Regions from separate parts of the Homo sapiens genome. Here regions 1 and 3 are each linked to region 2. The links are contacts of gene promoters, found by promoter capture Hi-C in blood cells and fetal thymus (Javierre and others, 2016). All regions are on one chromosome and are shown on one strand. Each heading gives the region's core, a stretch centred on a gene start or on the middle of the fragment in contact. The rest is flanking DNA. Distances are from core to core; before and after follow the strand shown.

Region 1 (3,887 bases), core at 1,094-3,593, 690 kb after region 2:
GACATCTAAGGCATTATGGGTTGAACTGTCTCTCTCTAGAATTCATATGTCCAAGTCCTAACCTCCATACCTCAGAATGTAATCTTACCTGGGGAGAAGGTCTCTATGGTGAGGTCACCAGGATAGGCCCTAAACCAATATGACCATGTCCTTATGAAAAGGGTAAATTTAGACACGCAGACACACACATGCCATGTGACATGAAGGCGGCGATAGTGATGCTTCCACAAGCCAAGGAACACCAAGAATTCCCAGCGAAGCACCGGGAGTATGGAACAGATTCTCTGCAGAGCTTCCAGGAGGAGCTGCCCTGCCACCTTCTGGCCTCTTCTCGGGCTTCTGGCCTCCAGGACTGCGAGACAATCAGTTCCTATTGTTTAGGCCACTCAGGTTGTGATAGGTGGTTACAGTAGCCCTGGCAAAGTCACACACAGGGCTGGGGGCAGCATTGTTTCTCCGCTTTCTTTCTTTTTTTTCTTTTGAGACGGAGTCTAACTCTGTCACACAGGCTGGAGTGCAGTGGCATGATCTCGGCTCACCGCAACCTTGGCCTCCTGGGTTCAAGCGATTCTCCTGCCTCAGCCTCCTGAGTAGGTGGGATTACAGGCACGTGCCACCACACCTGGCTAATTTTTGTATTTTTAGTAGATACGGGGTTTCGCCATATTGGCCAGGCTGGTCTTGAACTCCTGACCTCAGGTGATCCACCCGCCTCGGCCTCCCAAAGCTGGGATTACAGTCGTGAGCCACCACACCCGGCCGTTTCTCCATTTTCTACGGGAGACATGTTTTCCACATGTTTGGACCGTCCTTTGGGGATAACTGTGAGTGAGCATCTCACTTGAGAACCTCCCTCACATCCTCCACGTACTTCGCCCACGGTGGGGAGGTGGGGAGGTGGGCCCAGCAGCCTGTGGCCTCGGTGTGCTTGCTGCACATGGAGTGGACCCCATGTGGCCTCCTCCAGTGAGCCTCCAGGCTTGGGATGGGCCAGGTGCTGGAGCAAGTCCATTCCAGAGCTTGGTTCTTTTAAAAATTTCTATAATATATATACATATATTTTATAGACAGAGTCTTGCTCTGTTGCCCAGGCTGGAGTGCAGTGGCACGATCATAGCTCACTGCAACTTTGAACTCCTGGGCTTAAAGGATCCTCCTCCCTTAGCCTGCCAAGTAGCTGGCAGCTAATTAAAAAAAAAAAAGGGTGTTTTTAAAAAAAAAAAAAAATTGATTGGGGGGATCTCACTATGTTGCCCAGGCTGGTCTCGAGCCCCTGGCCTCAAGCCATCCTCTCGCCTCAGGCTCCCAAAGTGCTGGGCTTACAGAGTGAGCCACCGTGCTGGCCAGAGCCTGGTTCTTAGTGGGCCAGTCAGGGAATTTCAATGAAAAGTAAGGAGCCAAAGAAAGAAGACAAGGAAGTTGAAATAGGTCGGGGCTGAGATAATCCTTAGAGATCAACATCTCGGGTCTCAGTTGTTTATCTAAACCGAGCTGAATTCCAACCCCCACCCACACCTCCTGCATCTTCCCGGGGCTCTCAGCTTTGCTTTTTCAGAACGGTTTTCATTGTGTGTGTTGCCGCTGGCTGGATGTGAGGGTGAGTGATTTTACCGTAGCATCAAGTGTAGCCCAGAGCAACAGATGAACTCCGGAACAGAGTCATTTCCTGGATTCTGCCCTCTGGGTTCTAGATGCTTCCTGACAGTTCCGTTTCTTGACGTGCAGTTGCCGAGTCAAAGGCTGTGTTGTTGAATTCATTGCTACGCATCCCAGGTTTGCCCTCTCAGAAAACTGCACTGCCAGACAGTCTCAGCAACGGTTGGTGGACAGTCTCTACTGTTTTGCCAAAGCTTGGATGTGATGAGGCTTTGCCAATCTGACCTCCATGCTGACCGGCTCCTGCACGTGCTGGTGAGGCCGAACGCTCCTGCTAGCGCTGCCTGCACACCTGGGACTCACTTTCAGCGAATTGTCTGGCTGTGCCTTTGTCCATTTTTTGCTGATTTATAAATCAAGGATTTTAAAGCCACATGTTTGTGGCAGTTATTGTCCCAGCATTTTGTTTTATCCATATGCTTTTCTTGATATACAGGTGGCTTTCATTTGCAGAGGTCATTATTTCCTCCCTCTTATGGTTTGGTTTTTGCATTTGCCTCTGTGGGGTAGGTTAAGAAAGTTGTGGATTTGAATCCTTGTTCGATAGCTACGTAACTCTGGGGAATGTACTTAATCTCTCTGAGCCTCAATTTTCTCATCCGTAAAATGGGGATAACAATATCCACCTCCCTGGTTTGTTGGTGTGTATGGAAAAACTCTCTCAAACTGCGTTTTTCCTCTTTCACTCCACCACCACCTCCACAATCATCAACACAGAAGACGTCTGCAATAAAAGGCGTGGGGGTTTCCCCACACATTAAGCAGTGGGCCCCAGCTGGGTGTTCAATTCTAACACTGTCCACCTGGAGATAGCACCAGATCCCACTGGGTGGGGGGCTCAGTCCCCACGACTGCCACCCACCCCAGACACCAGTCATAAGCCTGGGCCTCTCGAACTTCTGACGGATGGGCTTCAAGTTGGGGTTCCCATGACCTCCTCTCTGTGTTGATCAATTTGCTGGAGCAGCTCACTGAACTCAGGGAAATAACTATGTTTGCTGGCTTATTGTAAAGGATGTTACAAAGGACACAGATGAAGAGATGCGTAGTGCGAAGTATGGGGGAAGGGGCAGGGAGCTTCCAAGCCCTCCCTGGACACATCATCCTCTGGGAACCTCCACAAAGTCAGCTCTCCACGGCTCCCTGAACCCAGTCCTCTTGGGTTTTTATGGAAGCTTCATGTTGACAGAATTCCTTCCCGCATGGTATGAGGCGGGACCCTCCCAGGGGAGGCTGTTAAGACCTACAGTCAGAAAAGTGAGGGAAGGTTAGAGTCCTGCCTTGTGGCAGGAAAAAGGAAGGCGAGAGGGTCAGAGAGGTTCTGTTACCTGAGGGTGGCGCCCAGGATTAGCACATCCAACATTATAACAGAAAACTGTAACAAGGGCTAAGTGGAGCTATGAGCCAGAAACTGTGGATGAAAAAATATATACATATATATATATATGAACATCAGAGTTGGTCATTTTATAATTTACATAAACACTGGGCAGGGAGTGTAATAAGCACTTAATAAATGATACCTTTCCATATTCCTTGATTTTAAGTCAACAAATGTGATGTGGTTCATCAGCTACTATTTAGATATCTTGAGAAAGACAGAAGACCTCAAGACGCAGGTCCTGTTCTTGAAGGAAAGGAGAAGAGAACCCTTGTCTGGGGAGCATGCTCTGCACTTAGGCGACCAGCAGGATTGGAAGGGACCATCAGTGTGGTCCTGGAGGAATCCATCAATGGAGGCCCCGAGGGGCCGTGAAGGACTTGCCCATGTAAACTGCAGGGCCTGGTCTGCGGCTCCCACCCCCGTGCACCTCACCTCCAGTTAAGTCCTGCAGCTTATCACCTCAGTGGAGAGACAAAGCAGTGCTTTGGAATGTGACCCCTTTGATAGCTTGAATGTTGCAGGTTCCGCAGTGGCTTTCATGCTAGTCAGGGGGCAGTGGAGAGTGGCAGCACGTCAGCTGAGTGTAGGGCTACCAAGTCTTGGGCCAGGCAGGACTTGAGCAGCTTGGGGAGTCGCCCAGAGGAGGGATCCTGGGGGTAGCTGGCCAAAGCCAAGCTGGTTAAGATAGGTGGCCAGTGATAGCTGCCAAGGCTAGGAGGAACAGGACTGCTCTATGTATTAGGCAAAGGAAGTTATGTCCAGAGTCCAGAAGGGCAGGAAATAGCAACCCAGATTAGAGGACGGTAGTCGGGCCTCAGTCAGTCGGGGAAGGTGAGCCCCAGGTCCA
Region 2 (4,402 bases), core at 422-2,921:
TGTGTCGAGGTGTCAATGTCAGAGGAACAGGAGGAGGGGCCACCTGACTGAGTGTGTGAACAGCATGCAGGCCTCCCGGGGCTTCTGTGGGAAGGGCTGCCCCGATGAACTTGGTATTTGCCCTGGTTTGCATCTGAGAAGTTGCACACACACCTTGTCAAGTAGAAGAGAAGGAGTTATCACACTCAGGAATTCCTGATGTGGGTTCATAACTTTTCCTTCTGTCCCATCCCTGGTCCCCAGGTGAGTCCAGGTAAAGAAGAACAAGAAGAGTAAAGAGAGATGCTGCGGGCTCCAGCTTCTTGGACAGTCTCGCCTTCCCCATGAGAGCCTACACATTCAGAGCCTGCTGCGTGGGAGCCTGAAAGCTCCTTCCTGTCCTGTAAGTCTCAGGCTTCTACCCAGACCCGGGGAAATTGTACTCTTTCTCCTGACACTTTAAATGGAAGTTTAGAGGCTCCACATGCCCCACACAATGCTTACCGAAACAAGGTGATGCAGGGTCCCGCGCTGTCTCCCAGGACAACCTCCTACCCCTGGCTCCTGCGTCTCTACGGCTTGCACCGTTGTAAGGCGTCCCTTTCTCAGGGCCCATCTTACCCGCCTTGGAAGTGCTGCCTTTCTCACGGAGCCTGTGGGGATAGCTCTGGTTAATTTATAGCCCACATCGCCCAATTTAGCATTTGATTAAGTTTCCTTTTTATGAGATAGTCCTTTCTCCCTAGTGATGCGCTTGGGGGCAGGGACAACATCATTTCTTTCTTTTGTACCTCCCCAGAGTAACAATGACTCTATTTCCTGAACCAAAAATTGCAACACGTGGTCTCAAAAATAAGAAAGGTCACTTGGTAGCTGCCGGGACAAGTGTCGACCACAGGCACCTCAGAGGCCCGGGTGGGCGTGCCCCCGGAGCTGCTGCAGGGCGGTGCTGCCACCTTCTCCTGGGCTGCTCCGGGGCCCCGCGATGAATGAGTGAGTGAATGAGTAAATGAATGAATGTGAATGCGTGAATGAAGCATGCCGCGCGGACTTTCCCGCGGCCCTGGCCGCTGGGGGCGCGCCTCTGGCCGGTGGCCGGAGGTGGAGGTCTCCCTCGTCCGGCTTCGGCGCGCCGGGTCTGCCAGGCCGGCCGGAGGTGCGCAGGAGCCCCGCGCCCAGCTCCCCCGCCCGCAATGGTACGCGCCACTCCGCGCTCCCCGAGCTGGCGGGCTTGAGGGCGTAGTGAATGGAAGGCGCCGACGCCGGAAGTGGATGAGACCACTAGGGAGGACGACGGGTAGCACGAACGCGCCGCGTCTCCATTGAGGAACCGACGAGGTGAACATGGAGTTCCATGTGCGTCTTATGTAAAAAGAGCGACGGGCGCGGCCACCAATGGGCGCGCGGCGTTCGTAGGCCCCGCCCCTCATGTATGCAGATGAGACGGAGTCGCGGCCAATGGCGGAGGCCGGGGGCGGGCGCGGCGCGCGCGGTCACGTTTTCCACTATGTGACAGCGGCGACTCGGCCGCGGCGGAGGCGGCGGCGCTGAGGGGATACGTGCAGCTGTGGGCGGCGGCGGCGGGCGCGGGGCCGGGCGGACAGAGCCGCGAGTCGGCGGAGGGACCGGCGGACGGGCTGACGCGGGCGCGGCCGGCGGTAAGTGGCGCGGCGCGGCCCCGCTGCGGCTTACGTAACCGCCGCCGGCGCGCGGGCCTCGGGCAGGTCGGGGTCCCAGCGCCGGCTCGGGCAGCGGAGGCGCCGCCGGAAGTTCCTTGGGCTGCTGGACTCCTCGGCTTGAAACGGCGCCGGCGTGGGGGCGTGTGCCCTTGGCCCTGTCCCAGGTGGAGAGTGGTCGAGCCGCGCGCAGGGTGCGCTCGTTTGAACTGCGGTGACACCGAGGGTTGGGGACTCGAACCCCCGCTTCGCAGCTCAGGAGCCTGAGGTCCGAAAGGTGAGGCAGCGTGTGTAGGGCACCGAGCTACCGAGTGACTGCGCGCGGGCTGCGGTTCCGTGGGCGATTCTCTTTTGGGAACCCTCCCTCCCCTCGCATGGGGAAGGCCAAGGAAACCAAGGGTCAGCGCAGCCGGCCCTGGGATCTGGAGGACCCTCGGGGAGCTGACTGCCTCTTCTGAGGCCACAGGGCTAAGTCCTGGGCTGGGGAAGGGCCATGGAGGGGCGCTGATCTAGGAGCTTTTCCTGGACACCCACGGGTCTCCTGGAATGGGTGATCAGAGGGACAAGGAAGTCCCGGTGCCAAGCCAGGCCTGGGAACCTGAGGGCGGGGAGACCCTCTAATGTTCGCCCCTTTGCCTCCCCTGGACCACCCTGTATTAATTCCCTTTCCCCGGACTGGATAGAAGGGAATGGGGGTGTCCACTCTTTGGTGCAGCAGTCGCGCCTACCTTCTGGGATGTACTTTGGCTGCCAAGTCCCAGACATAGACCAGGGGGTGGGAGGTGGCCTGCTTCCCCCTTCAGGAAGGCCAGGGTAAGGGATGACGAGTTGGTTGCCAGGGTTTCTGTAACCTACACAGAAGGAACCCGTTTGGAAAGCTGATTCATACAGAACAACAGAGCCAGAAGGCACCCTGAAAATCACCCAGAGTAACCCCTCAGCCTGACAGATGAGCAAACTGAGGCCCAGGCCCAGGCTGTCTGCAGGATCTTCCCATCGTCCTGGGGCAGGATGAGCTTCAGAGGTTCAGTGATGGCCTCCACTTGCGTGCTGAATCCTGGGTGGGCTGGAATTTGGGAGGAAGGGCCTTAAGTCCGGGAAATGTGTTAAGAACCCCACACGGTGGCTAAAGCCCCACATGGACGCCTCTCACCTGTATATGGCACAGCAGGACTGCTAGACTTCTTGGCCCACCCTCTACCCCCACCTGGGGCTTCTGGTCCCAGGCTGGGTGTGCCTGAGAAGAAAACAGGACTCTACCTGAAGGCTTTATTTGGAAATTGAGTTTTAAAATACAAGGTGAATTGATTTTTGTGTGCTATATGACTATAATGAAGAAAGGGACTCCGTTTTTTTTGAGTGGAAGCTGTGTGGTGTGCCAGCGCGGGGATGGCACCGTGGGTGTTTGCAGTTATCTGTCACTGTCGCCTTGGTATGATTCATTGGTACAGAACTAACGCAGCCCTGGCTTTCTGTGGAGACTGGAGTGCCAGGTGGGAAGGGGGAGCCCTGTGTCAGCCAGCTGGCTGCTGCTGGCTCCCAGTCTGGGCCTCAGTTTCCTTGTTTGTTTGGAGGGGCTCAGATTGGGCAGTCTCAGAGGTCTACTTTAATTCCCAGGTTTTTGGTTTTCTGTTACCCTACAGATGATTTTTCCCAGGTTTCTCGCAGGAGACAGAGGCTTCTGATATGCTCTTGCCTTTGGGCCAAGTAATGTTCTCCTGTGAGCCACGTCTGCAGTGCTTACAAGGAAAAAGGAAAGATTCCTCTCCTGTGCACTACTTCTCGTACCCACTGAACTTTCTCAAAAATACTGGTAGTCACACTGCTGTTTTTAAGCGATGATGTAACTTCACCAGGACTCGGCAAACCACGGCTCTGTCAGGTCATTGAACAGCTGGCAGGGCCACTTGGCGTTTAGTCAGAAGAAAGACAGGCTCTGGGTGTGCTTTTACCTTTTGAAAACTACTCTGTTTGGCAGAGGGAGCCAGAAACACACAATTCCATAAGCTTGGCAGAGACTGTCGCCACACTTCTGGAAAGCTGGCCCACCTTGGGAACCAAGGGAGAATTAGTCTAGAGGGGGCCTCTGATGGACCCCTCCCCCAGCCCACGCACTCCCCCCTAGGGACCAGGCCCTCCTTTCAACTCATTATGCTCATCGTGTACACATTTGTAACAAGTTTGTTACCATATCTCCAAGTCTAGAGCAAATTAGAAGCAGTAAATGAATAGCAGTGACTGGTGACAGGAGTCAAGGCCACTTGGTTTTCAGAGACTGGTAGTTCCCAAGACAGAGTGAGCTGCCGTGCTGAACCCTCACCGGCCTCGAAGGGTTCCTCGTGCTCTTCCTGGGGTGACATAGAGGAATCAGAATCCACTCTTTAAGAAACCAGGTACAGGAGGAGCAGATGCCTGAGCTTCCTGCAATTCGGAGTAGCTCAGTCCCTGACCACCGGGGAGCTAGGAGGCTGACACTTTTGCCTTTATTTGCTTTAAAGTCTTGTAGTTCTAAAAATGTAGGGATTTAAAAGTCTGAATTGAGATCATTGAAGGTGTCCTAGTGAGGCCAAGACAATGCCTCCCCGGTGCACCTCCTTCCCTCCATATTTGGATGGCTGCGGTCACATTTTCCTCAGTTACCCAACCGTTGCCATGGAGAGTGCGGCTGTTTATTTAGCAGGACAAACATTTTCTCAGGATTACAGCAGGCTGGCCTCAGGGAGTTGGCTCCTACCAGGAAGTAGAAA
Region 3 (4,458 bases), core at 1,096-3,595, 630 kb after region 2:
AATTCACATCAGTAAATAAGAAAATCAGCATTTTTTCTTTTTTTAAGCTAAATTACTATTGTATTTTACTTTAACCTTAGAATTTTTTCTTTAACCTTAGAATTTTAGTTTCATTGATTTTAAAAAACATAAGTTAATGAAGTAAATGGTTTATTTCACAATAAGAAATTATTTAATAGTAAGAAGCTTATTTAAATGCTTTCATGAATAAGTAAAATTATAAGTATTCTTAAAGTGATGTGAAGAACTTACAAATTCTTCAGAGTCAGCACAGTGCAATGGTCTGATGACAAGCCTGAAGTCATTTGTTAGCTTCCAAAGAAAACCCTACATTGAGTTTTATGAATGGAAATTCTTGGCTGTCACTACATTCTGCAATGTAATGGAACACGAGATTAAGAAGGATGGAAATCTGGGTGCTCCAGGAGTCTTAACAAGTGGTCAGCATCCTTTGAACCCAGCAATTTCCCTTCTAGCAACAATCAAAGATGAGTAGGAAGATGATTGCCAGTGGATGTTCATCGCAACGTTCTTTATACCAGAGAAGGATGGGGCTTAAGTACATCAGCTGTGGGAAGAGAACACTATGCAGCCGTTGGGTAGAAAAAGTACATATAGAATGATTATAAAAGGCGATTTGCTCAAAATTTAAAAACTCACAGAGAAGTTCAAAGGTGGCAGCAAAAACACCCTTCCAGAGGCCAGACCCTTGCACTTCAAAAAAAGTCCATTCAGTCTTGGAGCAGCACTCCTTGCCAGGAAGTTCTCTTCACGCCTCCCTGGAGCTGTTACCCGCATACACAACAACGTGACTTTTCTGTTCCCGAGGCGGCATGCCAGCAGCTGAACACACTGCCACACCGCCGAGGCCCCGTCATTTGCTGATGGACCTCAGTCCAGTCAGAGGTACAATCCAGAACTGAATACCAGCAACCAGCACACTGTGGACAGGCCAGGCGGCAGGCGCACCTGCGGATGGAAACGCAGTGGAGAACGCCGCCGGCCTCTTTGCCAAGAACTCAATCTCCCTGGCTTGGGCCCCCTCCTCTCCACTGCCAGTCCCACTGCGGCCCCAGCCAGGACTAAGCCTCTGTGGTCCTTCTCCCCATGACTTCACTAAAACGGCTCTGGCTGAGGCCGCCAGGACCCTCCCTTTTGCAAGGTGCAAGTGACATTCTTCCCCGGGTCTCCCTTGGGTCTCTCTGCAGCATGGACATGGCTGTTTCCCCTCTGCCCCCACCCTTCACCCTGCTCCTCCCTCCCAGTGCCCTGAGGGCGACCCTTCCTCTGCTCACCCCTTCCTTGTTTCTGAGGTTCCCGGGGCTCCACCCTGGGTACTCTGCTCCACTGACCTACTTAGGAGACCTCATGCAACTATGTGGCTTTGACCACCCTGACCGCTGACGGCTCCCCTCTCCCCTATGGCCCAGGCGAATGCACGTGAACCTTTGCCAGACCTTTCCCTGTGGGTAGTGCTCAGCTGCCTCAAGGCAACATTCCCAGAACAGAACTGAACTCTTCCCCGGGTCCCCGCTCCACCAACCCAGTCAGTTCCACAGTGTCTGTGAGTGATAACGCAACATCACACCATCCTCCCCAAGCACCCTGTCAGAGGCCCGGAAGTCATTCCATGTGCCTCGTCCATTAAGGCTGAGCTGTTTAGGCTGCTGTAGCAGAAGGGCATAGACTAGGTGGCTTATAAACAACAGAAATTAACTTCCCCCAGTTCCAGAGGCTGTGAAGCCCAAGATCAAGGTGCCAGCAGATTCAGTGTCTGGGGAGGGCCCCCTTTCTTGTTCATAGAAGGGGTGAGGGCCCCCTTCCCATTGTGTCCTCACATGGCGGGATGGGGGGGGAAAGAACTCCCCGGGTTTGTTTTATAAGGGCACTAATCTCATTTACTCTCATGCCCTAATCACCTCCTAAAAGCTCCCACCTCCTAATACAGTCAGCTTGGTGGTTAGGATTTCTATACATGAATTTAGGGGAGACACAAACGTTCAGACTACAGCACCTTCTTTCACTCCGCATCTCACAGAATGCTCACAATCTTACTCATTTCTTTTAAACTAAAAATTCTAATAGTTTAGTTAAACTGATGCAGGGCAGGCGAGCCCTAAAGTGGAGCTTAGCCCATCTGGGTTCTTGGCCTTGCTCAGGAAAGAATTCAAGGGCAAGTCATAGGTAGAAGAAAACAGCTTTACTGAAGTGTCAGTGTTCCAGCTCCCTGCCGGCTCCCGCAGGGCAGGGCTACCCCGCAGGCAGAGAGCAGCACCTCAGGGCAGTTTTGCAGTCCTGTTTATACTCACTTGTAATTGCATGCAGATTAAGGAGCGGTTTATGCAAGGAAGAGGTAGTAATCACTGGGTCATTGCCGTGGAAAGGAGCGGTAATGCCTGGGTGCCGTCATGGCAACGGTAAATTGACATAGCGCTGGTGGGCGTGTCTGATTGAAGACTGCTTTCCCCACCGGGCCTGTTTTAGCTAGTCCTCAATCTGGCCCAGTGTCCAAGCCCCGCCTCTGGAGTCAAGTCCCGCCTCCTACCTCAGAAGCAGTTCCAGTTTTTAATGTTAACCAACACAGGGAAAGTGAGGTTTCACTATAAATAGCCACACCGAGAATGGGAACATAAAACTGTCCCAGTTATAGGGATTATTAATGGATTTCGCTGCGGAACAAACAAGGATTTCAGGTCAGTTTATGACATATTGTTATATATCTTCAAATCCTAAGAGAAAGAAAAAAAATACATTCAGACATTGGACCTGAAAAAAAAATTGTCCTTATCTTTTCTAAGGGGTTAAGAGCACATGGCACACACCACACCTTAGCACCCTGAAGAATAAAATCATATACGTGATGGTGAGAATGTAAGAACCCTGCACTGCGTTCAGTAACATCCCCCAAAAGTTCATGTCCACCCAGAACCCGTGGATGGGGCCTTATTTGGACATAGGCTTTTTGCGTGTACAATCAAGTTAAGATGAGGTCGTACTAGATTAGGGTGGGCCCTCATTCAATGACTTTCTTATAAGGAAACAGAAATTTGCACACAGAGACACAAATACCCAGGGAGGGGGCCACGTGGAGACGGAGGCAGAGCCTGGTGTGATGTGTCTACAAGCCAGAGGGCCGAGGGCTGCCAGCAGCACCAGAAGCTGGAGAGACGCCTGGAACACCTTCCCCTCAGAGCCTCCAGAAGGAACCCACCTGGCCCAATACCTCGACTTTGGACTTCCGGTCTCCGGAACTGTGAGAGAATACAGTTCTGTTATTTTAAGTCACCCAGTTTGTGGCACTTTGTTATGGCATCCCTACAGACCAACACCTGCATGCTGTCATGGGTCACGCTAGGTGCACGAGGACTCAGTCTTCAGCCAGATTTTACATTTTGTCCAAAGGAATCATGGCAACACCTATTTTGGGGGCTGATAGGTACCTGGGTCAGGAGAGCCTATGCCACTCAGCTGGGCCACAGAACTACAGCGGATTGACTCAGGAAACAGGAAAACAGTGCCCTCTCTCTTCCTGGAGCTGTCCCCATGCACAGCACAGAGAATGTGTGCCCACTCCCGTGTTGCACCAGGGACACAACTGTCCCCCTGGAATGTGCTTTCGGAACGTGCATGGCTCTGGGACAGATGTTAGGTATCACTGAAAAATTCCATCGACAGTGAGGACAAGGATGGTTTCATGGATGAGGACAGAGATGCACATAGGGCAGTTTGCCCTGGGCAGGAACAGAAGGTGAACCAGGGGCCGAGAGCGAGGTGGAAGGAAAGGGATTTGCTCACATCTGGAAGGAAGGAGGGAGTCTGGGGAGGGCAGCCCGGCCAGCTGGAGGGCTTTGGGGAACAAAAAGTTTCCACTGTCTGGGAGCATCAGAGGGCTTGTGCTCTAAGGAGGAGAGGGACTGGCAGGCATGGTGGCATCTGGGTGGACTGGACACACAGTCCAGCCTCCATTATGTGGCCCACCCCACTGTGTCCTCCAGAATTAGCAGCAGCCAGGGGAAGCCAAGCCTCCAAGGCAGAGGGAGAATCATCAGAGGGCCCAGGAAACAGCTCAATCACTTCAGGGGCTTCTGCCCAGGATCCCCCAGGGTCTCCCTGCGTGGCCCCAGATATCCTTCCCTGTTTGTTCACAGTGCTGATGAGGCACCCACTGTAGCAAGGCCTCTCCCCGCAGCCCAACCCAGGAAGCGGTGGGAGAGCAGAGATGGCATGTTAGTTTCTCGGGGCACAGGGACTGCGTGCCTCTGGAGCCAGGCTGAGCAATAATCTCGCCTCTTTCACAAGAGGAGATCCGAGAGCTTCCTCCTCCCTCTCCCAGGATGACAGTGGGTCCTGCAGGTGGTCAGGTGTCCCGACGCTGTATATTGAAGGTGATGGAATATATAAACTCAAAAACGCATGCTTTTCTCCCTTTTTCTGCCACAGACATGTAGCACCGTGCGC

What was found. The method cuts DNA at HindIII sites, captures the fragments that hold promoters and counts their contacts. A CHiCAGO score of 5 or more calls a contact.
Region 1: a fragment that was not itself captured here is called in contact with the fragment with the promoter of PER2 in region 2 in 1 of 17 cell types (total B cells); the score reaches 6.5 in total B cells.
Region 3: a contact is called between a fragment that was not itself captured here and the fragment with the promoter of PER2 in region 2, in 1 of 17 cell types (neutrophils). The highest score is 5.7, in neutrophils.

What each region holds. Positions count from the first base shown.
Region 1 is chr2:237,601,597-237,605,483 of GRCh38, reverse strand. No RefSeq gene overlaps it. Among named protein-coding and RNA genes, the nearest start is that of RAB17-DT, 12 kb to the right of the region's middle. RefSeq lists a silencer at 1,056-1,236 and an enhancer at 888-1,391. The HindIII fragment of the contact is 981 bases long and covers 1,853-2,833 here.
Region 2 is chr2:238,285,879-238,290,280 of GRCh38, reverse strand. It overlaps PER2 (period circadian regulator 2), which reads left to right and starts at 1,671. Exons shown (of 23, transcript NM_022817.3): 1 at 1,671-1,932. It overlaps LOC112268433 (a long non-coding RNA gene), which reads right to left and starts at 2,412. Exons shown (of 3, transcript XR_002959458.2): 1 at 2,384-2,412. RefSeq lists enhancers at 108-157, 1,232-2,126, 2,211-2,733 and silencers at 924-1,193, 1,534-1,683. The HindIII fragment of the contact is 4,985 bases long and covers 1-3,664 here.
Region 3 is chr2:237,660,827-237,665,284 of GRCh38, reverse strand. All of the region lies in intron 1 of LRRFIP1 (LRR binding FLII interacting protein 1), which reads right to left. Among named protein-coding and RNA genes, the nearest start is that of LRRFIP1, 35 kb to the right of the region's middle. RefSeq lists enhancers at 506-1,074, 2,061-2,602. The HindIII fragment of the contact is 4,313 bases long and covers 189-4,458 here.